Linked DNA regions of Homo sapiens: region 2 is linked to region 1. The links are contacts of gene promoters, found by promoter capture Hi-C in blood cells and fetal thymus (Javierre and others, 2016). All regions are on one chromosome and are shown on one strand. Each heading gives the region's core, a stretch centred on a gene start or on the middle of the fragment in contact. The rest is flanking DNA. Distances are from core to core; before and after follow the strand shown.

Region 1 (4,244 bases), core at 480-2,979:
ATATAAGCTTGTCCACAAACCCAAATGAAAACAAAGGGCCCACACAATTGCCACGCATCTGGTGACCAGACAAGTTCACTAAATCTCAGCTGGGGTGGAAGTTCCTTGAGACCAGGGAATTTGAGTCACCTTGTAACCCTAAACAAAGCCAGGCATAAGTTGGATGCTTACCATATGTTAGTTAATTGAAAGAAGGAAAAACAGAGCACTGCACTGATAGAGAACAGTGACTGTGCACCTGATGTGCCGCAATGTGGTTTGGTGTTAAAAAAAATCACTCTCATTCATTACTAGTAGGAGTTCAAATGGGAACCACAGTTCCAAAAAAGCAATTTTGGCAACGTGTAATGACAGCCTTAAAACTATAAACACAAAGATGTTCCCTGCAGCCTTATTCATAATTTTTAAAAATAAAAAACAAACTAAACATCTAATAATAGGCTATGTAATCGTCCAGTAGCTCTAGTGGATGGACTATTACATTATTATAATTATTCAAATTAATATTTTCCCGCTTCTTCCCTGCTTTCCTTCAAGAGGTGGGGGAGGCCACCTGGCCCAAGCTGAAGGCCAAGATACAAGAAAAAAATGCAAAGGTTCTATTTTGGCAGCGTTTACATGGGCAGGGTGTCGTGGGGAGGCTGGCGGAGGGAGTGGGAGCAGGTGACAGAGAATATAGGGTAAGTTAGAAGGCTCTCAGTGCTGGTAAAAATAAAATAGAGTAAAGTAAAGGGTGGGGGTAGAGTTGAGGGGGGCGTGATCAGATTTCTGTTCAAATAGGATGGTCTTTTTGCTGTGAACTTAAGACTGCTCTAAGGCCAGGCGCAGTGGCTGACGCCTGTAATCCCAGCACTTTGGGAGGCCGAGGCGGGCGGATCACAAGGTCAGGAGATCGAGACCATCCTGCCTAACACGGTGAAACCCCGTCTCTACTAAAAATACAAAAAATTAGCTGGGCATGGTGGCACACGCCTGTAGTCCCAGCTACTCGGGAGGCTGAGGCAGGAGAATCGCTTGAACTTGGGAGGCAGAGGTTGCAGTGGGCTGAGATCGCGCCACTGCACTCCAGCCTGGGTGACAGAGTGAGACTCCGTCTCAAAAAAAAAAAAAAAAAAAGACTGCTCTAAAAAATAAAGTGTATTAAAAAGAAACTACGATGTTCAGTGTATGCTTCATCTACGGTCAAAGAGGCAAAGACTGAAGTGACAGTGGAAGCCAGGTGGTTATCTGGGAGGCTTACAAGACTATGTGATAGTATGGAAAATACTAGTATTAAGTGAAATGCTGGATGCAAAACTATGCATAGAGGGGAAAAACTGGAAAGAAATAGTAAACACAGCAAAAGTAGTTTGTGTGAAGGATAAATTTTTTAAAATTATTTTTTGTAGAAACAGGGTTTCTCTACATTGCCCAGGATGGTCTCAAACTCCTGGGCTCAAGCGATCAATCCTCCCACCTCGGCCTCCCAAAGTGCACAGGTGTAAGCCACCGCGCCCAGCCGAAGGATAAGGATTTTGGGTGGTGCGCTCTTTTCTCCTTTCCATTTCTGCATTTTCCAATTTACCTTTAGCGACCGTTCTTTCCTGTTAAAAAAAAAAAATTCACGACCTTGAAGAAGATACACGGGCTATGACTTCGCTGTTGTCACCGAGCGCCCCGCCCACCGCGTTCTCCGACCCGCGGCCGGCAGGGGGCTCGCGGCCTCCGCCAGGCGTCCTTCGGCTCCGTCAGTTCCCACAGGGCCTTGTGCGACATGGGCTGCGCCGAGGGCAAGGCAGTGGCGGCGGCCGCCCCAACGGAGCTGCAGACGAAAGGCAAGAACGGCGATGGCCGCCGTAGGTCAGGTACGACCGAGGGCGAAGGCCTGGTCCCCAGGTCGACGGGCCGAAGCGGGCCTTCCGGCCGGGGTTGGGGATAAAGTGCCCCGGAGCCCTGGCCTTGAAGCCCCTCACTGGAGTCAGTGACTGACCGCGCGCCACGCTGGAGACCCCAGAAACGCTCCCCCAGGTCACCCCGGGAGACGGAGGCCGGCGGCCGGCCGAGGGCTGCCCCGCCCGCTGGCTGTGAGAGAGGTGGGAGGTGGAAGGAGGAGCGGGCCCGCCGCGAGGACCTGCCCGGAAACCTGTCGGAAACCGAACCGAGATCTCGGCAGCGACCCGCCTGATTTCGCTCAGGGCCCGTTAGGGCGTCCTCTTCCTACAAGCACCGTGTTTCCAATGAAAGGTTACGGGGGAAGCGACCAAACCGACAGCCGAGTCCGGGGGTGCCCCTTCACCTCTCCAGAAGCCCCCGGCCCACTCCCAGCATCCTCCTCCATCGAGAATCTTGTCCGACACGCCTTCCCGGCCCCCTTTCTCCATCCCCTTGAATTTTGGGCACATTTCTCCCACCATCATCCCGCTTTATCCTTTCACTTGTTCTTCCAGAAGAGAAAGCTCCCAGTCTCTTCTCCATTGTCCGGATAATGCCAATAATGGCTAGTGGTTACTAAGCACTGACATGAGAGGGGCCTTTGGAAGCACTAGACATGGGTAATAATCTTGGTTCATGTTTCCAGCCATACTGAGAGATTTATCATAAACCCCATTATACAGATGAAGAAACTGAGAAGCAAAGAGGTTATAAAACTTACCCAAAGCACACAACTAGTAAGTGGAAGAGCTGGGATACCAGTTGAGGCCATCTGACTCAAAAGCCCTGGTCATAGTCATATGGCCGCCTCCACCTTTTTTATAGGCTTGAGAAAGTGAGGCTCCAAAAAGTGCCTTGCCCAATGGCTAGAATTATTAAATGCTGTAGGATCTGCCTCTTTCAAAGGCTTACAGTTTAGTTACAAGGCAGCATATGGTGAAGGGCTAAAAGGAGTGGTAAAAACAGCCAAGTGGGGATGGCAGCTCCCATAGATGAGGTAGGATTTGGTAGAGGTGTCTGAAGGGAGAACATTCTTGTTAGGGGAAGCAGCCGGTGAGACCATGCTAGAGATAGGGAGGCCTGTATATCCTGCTGGAGTTAAGGACTTGGATTAGGGGAAGGGAAGAATAAAGGAACAGGGTAGGAGCAAGGTCAGGCAAGGTCCAGGTCAGGCAGCTAATTTGTGGCCATTAGTACAATGAAGGAGTTTGAGCAGGTGCATCCCAAATTGACGTTTCATGTGCCATCCTCAGGATCTTCTTGATATCTATGTCCTTCCATTTATTTACTGTTTTTCTTTAGCTACATTCTTTTTGTGTGTGGTTAAAAAAAAAAAATTTACCATCTTAACAATTTTGTTTTTTTTTTTTTTTTAGTTTCGCTCTCGTTGCCCAGGCTGGGGTGCAATGGCGCCATCTTGGCTCACCTCAGCCTCCACCTCCCAGGTTGAAGCGATTCTCCTGCCTCAGCCTCCCAAGTAGCTGGGATTACAGGCATGCACCACCACGCCTGGCTAATTTTGTATTTTTAATAGAGACAGGTTTTCACCATGTTGGTCAGGCTGGTCTTGAACTCCTGACCTCAGGTGATCTGCCCACCTCAGCTCCCCAAAGTGCTGGGATTACAGGCATGAGCCACTGCACCCAGCTGACCCTAACCGTTTTTAAGTATACAGTTTTCAGCAGTATTAAGTATATTCACATTGTTGTGAAGCAGATCCCCTGAACTTTTTCATCTTGCAAATCTGAAACTCCATGCCAACTCGTTAACTTTTCATTTGCCGTTTCCCCCAGCCCCTGGTATCCATCATTCTACTTTCTGTTTCTGTGAAATTTGGCTACTTTAGATTGCTTATATAAGTTGGTATCATACAGTGTCTGTCTTTTTGTGACTGGCTTGTTTCACTTAGCATACTTGTCTTCGAGTTTCATCTGTATTGTAGCATGCGACAGGATTTCCTTACTTTTTAAGGCTGAATAATATTCCATTGTGTGTGTGTATATGTACATACACACACACATATATACACACACACACACACAAAATGGAATATATATACACACACACACCACATTTTTTTTTTCCCGAGATGGAGTCTTGCTCTATCGCCAGGCTGGAGTGCCGTGGCATGATCTTGGCTCACCACAATCTCCGCCTCCTGGGTTCAAGCAATTCTCCTCCCTCAGTCTCCCAAATAGCTGGGATTACAGGCCCGCCACCATGCCCAGCTAATCTTTGTATTTTTAGTAGTGACGGGGTTTCACCATGTTGGCCAGGCTGGTCTTGAACTCTTGACCTCGTGATCTTCCCGCCTCAGCCTCCCAAAGTGCTGG
Region 2 (4,244 bases), core at 965-3,464, 140 kb after region 1:
GGAGGGGCATGGAGACAGAAAGAGAAGCGCTCAAACGCAGGCCAACGCTGGGCACCGTTCTGGGGCAGTGGGAAGCAGAGAAGGCACACGGGGACAGGGCTGGGATGAGATTGAGGCTTCCGGCCGCAAAATCCAAGGAGGCACACGCTCTCCCAGAGCAAGATCGGTCCTTTAACAGCACTGAGAGTTCAGTTTCCTATTCCCTCACCCTAAGCCTGGCCCTGCAGAACCAATAAACAGCTGGGCTCTGAGCAGATTAAATTCCCAAGCCACACAGGTTTGAATCCCAGCAGCGCAGTTTTTGCCAAGTTATCTGTGCTTAACCTCACTTGGCCTCAGTTTCCTCTTCTGTAAAATAGGAGCAGTAATTGTATGCTTCAGGCCAACAGATAAGCCACTTTTTAGGCTTCTGTTGTTGAACTGCCTGTCCCGAGCTTGGGGGTGGGGAGACCAAAGCTTTGTGTGGAGGCTGCTGTCTTCCCACCTCCTCTTGCCCCCTTGGACTCTTCTTTGGAAGACTAGACTTTCCCTTGCTTTCCCATCAACCCAGCTCTCAGAGCAGCTCCAAGTACACTGTTGGTACTTTGTACATCATTGGAATGAAAGAACACTGTGAAGTCCCACAGGTTTCATTCTCTTTGGTCTCGTCTTTTCCATGGCAACCACCTTTTTAAAGGCTTCCTTTATCTTTTGCTCTGATTTGCAATTGCCTCCTAAATTGTCTCTTTAACCTTCCTTTCCACTCTCCATTCTGACCAAATCGTGTAATAATAGTCACATTTTCCTCATATGCTTACTTCCTGCATATTAGGGTTATGTTGTAAGTGCTATGCACATAGCAACATTTAATCCTCATGGCCACTACTCATTCTCAATTGGAAGTCCTGGCCAGGCACTCAGTGGGGTCCACCAATGAGAAGACAGGAAGGTGGGTCTGGGGCTCAGGAGGGAGGAGAGTGGAGGACTCTGAGTCAATATCCACACACAAAAAAGAATGACATCCACAAGATCTGTTAGTGTTGCTAAGGTAGAGAAGGCGAGGCTGTTTCATCCCCACTAAGTGCCATGAGCAAAAGGCCCAGTGTTTACAAAAGCCTTTGAAACCATTTTGAAAATGCTCCAGAATATGAAGGAAAATAACTCAACAGAAGAAAATTACAATGGACAAATCTTTAAATGCCTACATACTTGCCTTATGCCAATCAAATGCAATTAGATCTGATTCCTGTATGTCTGTAAATGAAGTACATTGAAAGTGGGAAAGTGATGCATTTCATTATATCTGGAATGATGTGGGCTCTGGAAGTACAAGTGCGTAGAGGAATAAAGGCCTTAAAATGGCCCAGAGAAGAAATGAAAAGAGAAGAGGCGTTATACTGAGGAGAGCTGCAGGCAGAGAAAGAACTGCACATCCAAAACGCCCTCCACGCAGTGACTCCACTAATCTTATAAGAACTTTAGAACTAGTGTTACACTCACTTTTCTTTTTTCTTTCTTTTTTTTTTTTTTTTTTTTTTTTTGAGATGGAGTTTCACTCTTGTTGCCCAGGCTGGAGAGCAATGGCACAATCTCGGCTCACTGCAACCTCCGCCTCCTGGGTTCAAACAATTCTCCTGCCTCAGCCTCCCAAGTAGCTGGGATCACAGGCGTGTGCCACCATGCCCGGCTAATTCTGTATTTTTAGTAGAGATGGAGTTTCACCATGTTTGTCAGGCTGGTCTTGAACTCCTGACCTCAAGTGATCCACCCGCCTCAGCCTCCCAAAGTGCTGGGATTATAGGCATGAGCCACTGCGCCCGGCCCTACACCCACTTTTTAGATGAAAAAAGGGAAGTTCAGAGTCAGTCACTTGCCCAGGCTCACACTGTGTGGCTTCTGTGGCATGGGGTGACTCCAAAGCAAAAGAGAAGGTGTGCCTCCTAGTGTCCATCCCTGTGAACAGCAGGCTTCCACTTTGGTGTTCAGTTTTACTGGAACACACTTTGTTTATGGGCTTGAGTGAATAAGGTCACATAGCTAAAAAATTTTATAGGGCTTGCAAATCAAGGGGGATGGGCAAACAGTTTAGCAGATAATTCTGGGAAAACTTGTTTGCTATGTGTGTAGCTATAAAACTGGATCCCTACCTAACACTGGATGACAAAGACAGACTTGAAACATATTGAAGACCTAAATGTATGTGGTACAGCCGTAAAATTTATATGGTACATATAGGAAAATACCTCTGTGACCTAGAGGTGGGTGAGGGTTTCTTAAACCATGGTCTCAAGCACAAACCAAAAGGCAAAGCACTGATGTGCCAGTTGCCCCAGAAGTTCTGATTCACGAAGACCATCATGGAAAAAGTTTAATAGAGAGATGACCATGTGGGAAGGGACTGTTCTGTGTCTGAAACTGATAAGGAATTTAGACCCAGGTGACTTCAAGGAACTCTGGCGAATCAACAAGAAGACAGGAACCACAAAAGAAAATGGGCAAAGGACATTGAACTGCTTATTCACCAAAGATAAAACCCAAAAGTCAACCAGGATAGGAGAGCTGTACAAACTTGCGAGTCATTAAGAAAGGCAAATTAAAATAATGAGAGATTGCTTTACAGCCATCAGATTTGCACACATCAGAAAGCTGGTTAATGCCAAATGATGAGCTAGGCGAGGGGACCGTCAGGCCCTGCTGGTTGGAGAGGAGACTGTTTGCTGCTCAGTGTTTAGACCTCAAGCACTGTGTAGCCCATGACCCAGCAATACGGCTCTTGGCTCTCAACCCCAGAGAAATTCTGTGTATCCCCAAGGTAACGTGCACGAAGACACCCGTTATGGCACCGTGTGCAGTGTGGGGAAATTGAACTCCATCCTGATGACCCTCACTGGGGAATAGATGAGTAGGCTGCGGCAGATGCAAGATGATGGAGCGGTACTTGGGGAGTACTCATGACATGGGTAGAGGCGAGTGGAAAGAAAAAGAGACCGAGCCCCCTATAACCGCTTCTGTGTACTAAAAATGTATGCCCATGAAACCATGGTACATGTTTTACGAGCAGAATAGCACACATGCACCGCATGAGAGGGGCCGTCTATGGAGAGGGAAATAGGAAGTGAATGGAAATAAAGAGGTGTTGAAGAGAAAGAGCACTGACCCAGGCAGGCTTTCCTACAAGCAGTGGTTACAAGCCCAGCCCCTGCAGCAGGGTAACTTAGCCCCCAGTACCTCTGTTTTCTTAGCATAAAATAGAGATAATAATTGTGCTCACCTCCCAGAGTTGCTGTGAGGATCAAGTTAACACACACATGAAGTGCTTAGAATAGTGTGGCTGGCACAAAGGGGGTGCTAGGTGTATAAGGGTGTTCACAGTGCTTATATTAGTGAAAAATGAAAAATAATTGAAATATCCAACTGTGGGAGACAGTTTATCCAAATGATTGGAAAGATCTAATTGTTCTTCTGTCCTTCTTCCCTTTGTCTTTTTGGTAGTACAACCTCCCCCCGCCCCCCCCCCAACCTCTACACATACATAGATTTTAGCAATGTGCTTGGGCACCTAGCTATGTACTGAATTTCCCAGCCTCCATGATACTAAGTTGCTCTGTGGTTAAGCTCTGGGATAGAATGGATGTGAAAGTGTTATGTTCCGTGTAAGAAAAACACTTGCTCTCCACTTTCTCTTTCCCCTGCATCTGTGAATGACCTGACACCCACTGGAGGGCTGGAGGCCAGCCATGAGCAAGCAGATGAGTCAAGAAGCAAGCAGATGCTGAGCAACAAGTTGGAAGGAACCAGGGCCCTGATGACCCACACCCTGTAGCATCCTCCACCCCCACCTCCATCTGCTGGGTGGGAAAGAACAAACGTCTTACGTAGACTACTCTTTGAAGACACTGAATTTTGGGTCTCTGACATAGCTGCTTAGTCTGTACTCCAACTAATATAGCCATTTAAATCTTGTTTTTCAGAAAGTAGTTAATGATATGAGAAAAAAGCTTATAGTGTATACCTCAGTGGAAAAAAATTGGTATATAAAAACTAGATTTTTTTAGGGCAGCGAAACTACTCTGTGTGATACTCCAATGGGGGATCCATGTCATTACACATTTGCGCAAACGCATAGAATGTGCAGCACCAGGAGTGGCCCCTAATGTAAACTCTGGACTTTGGGTGATAGTGATGTATCAGTGTAGGTTTGTCAATTGTAACAAATAGACCACTTTGATAGGTGAAGTTGATAGTGGGGGAGGCTGTGCATGTAT

Evidence for each region. The method cuts DNA at HindIII sites, captures the fragments that hold promoters and counts their contacts. A CHiCAGO score of 5 or more calls a contact.
Region 2: a fragment that was not itself captured here is called in contact with the fragment with the promoter of TXNRD1 in region 1 in 17 of 17 cell types (naive CD8 T cells, naive CD4 T cells, activated CD4 T cells and 14 more); the score reaches 14.9 in naive CD8 T cells.

What each region holds. Positions count from the first base shown.
Region 1 is chr12:104,214,050-104,218,293 of GRCh38, forward strand. TXNRD1 (thioredoxin reductase 1) reads left to right here and starts at 1,730. Exons shown (of 17, transcript NM_001093771.3): 1 at 1,730-1,844. The coding sequence starts at 1,754. RefSeq lists enhancers at 1,506-2,122, 2,123-2,738 and a silencer at 1,593-1,682. The HindIII fragment of the contact is 5,942 bases long and covers 6-4,244 here.
Region 2 is chr12:104,356,648-104,360,891 of GRCh38, forward strand. No RefSeq gene overlaps it. Among named protein-coding and RNA genes, the nearest start is that of EID3, 55 kb to the left of the region's middle. RefSeq lists an enhancer at 784-1,078. The HindIII fragment of the contact is 3,521 bases long and covers 455-3,975 here.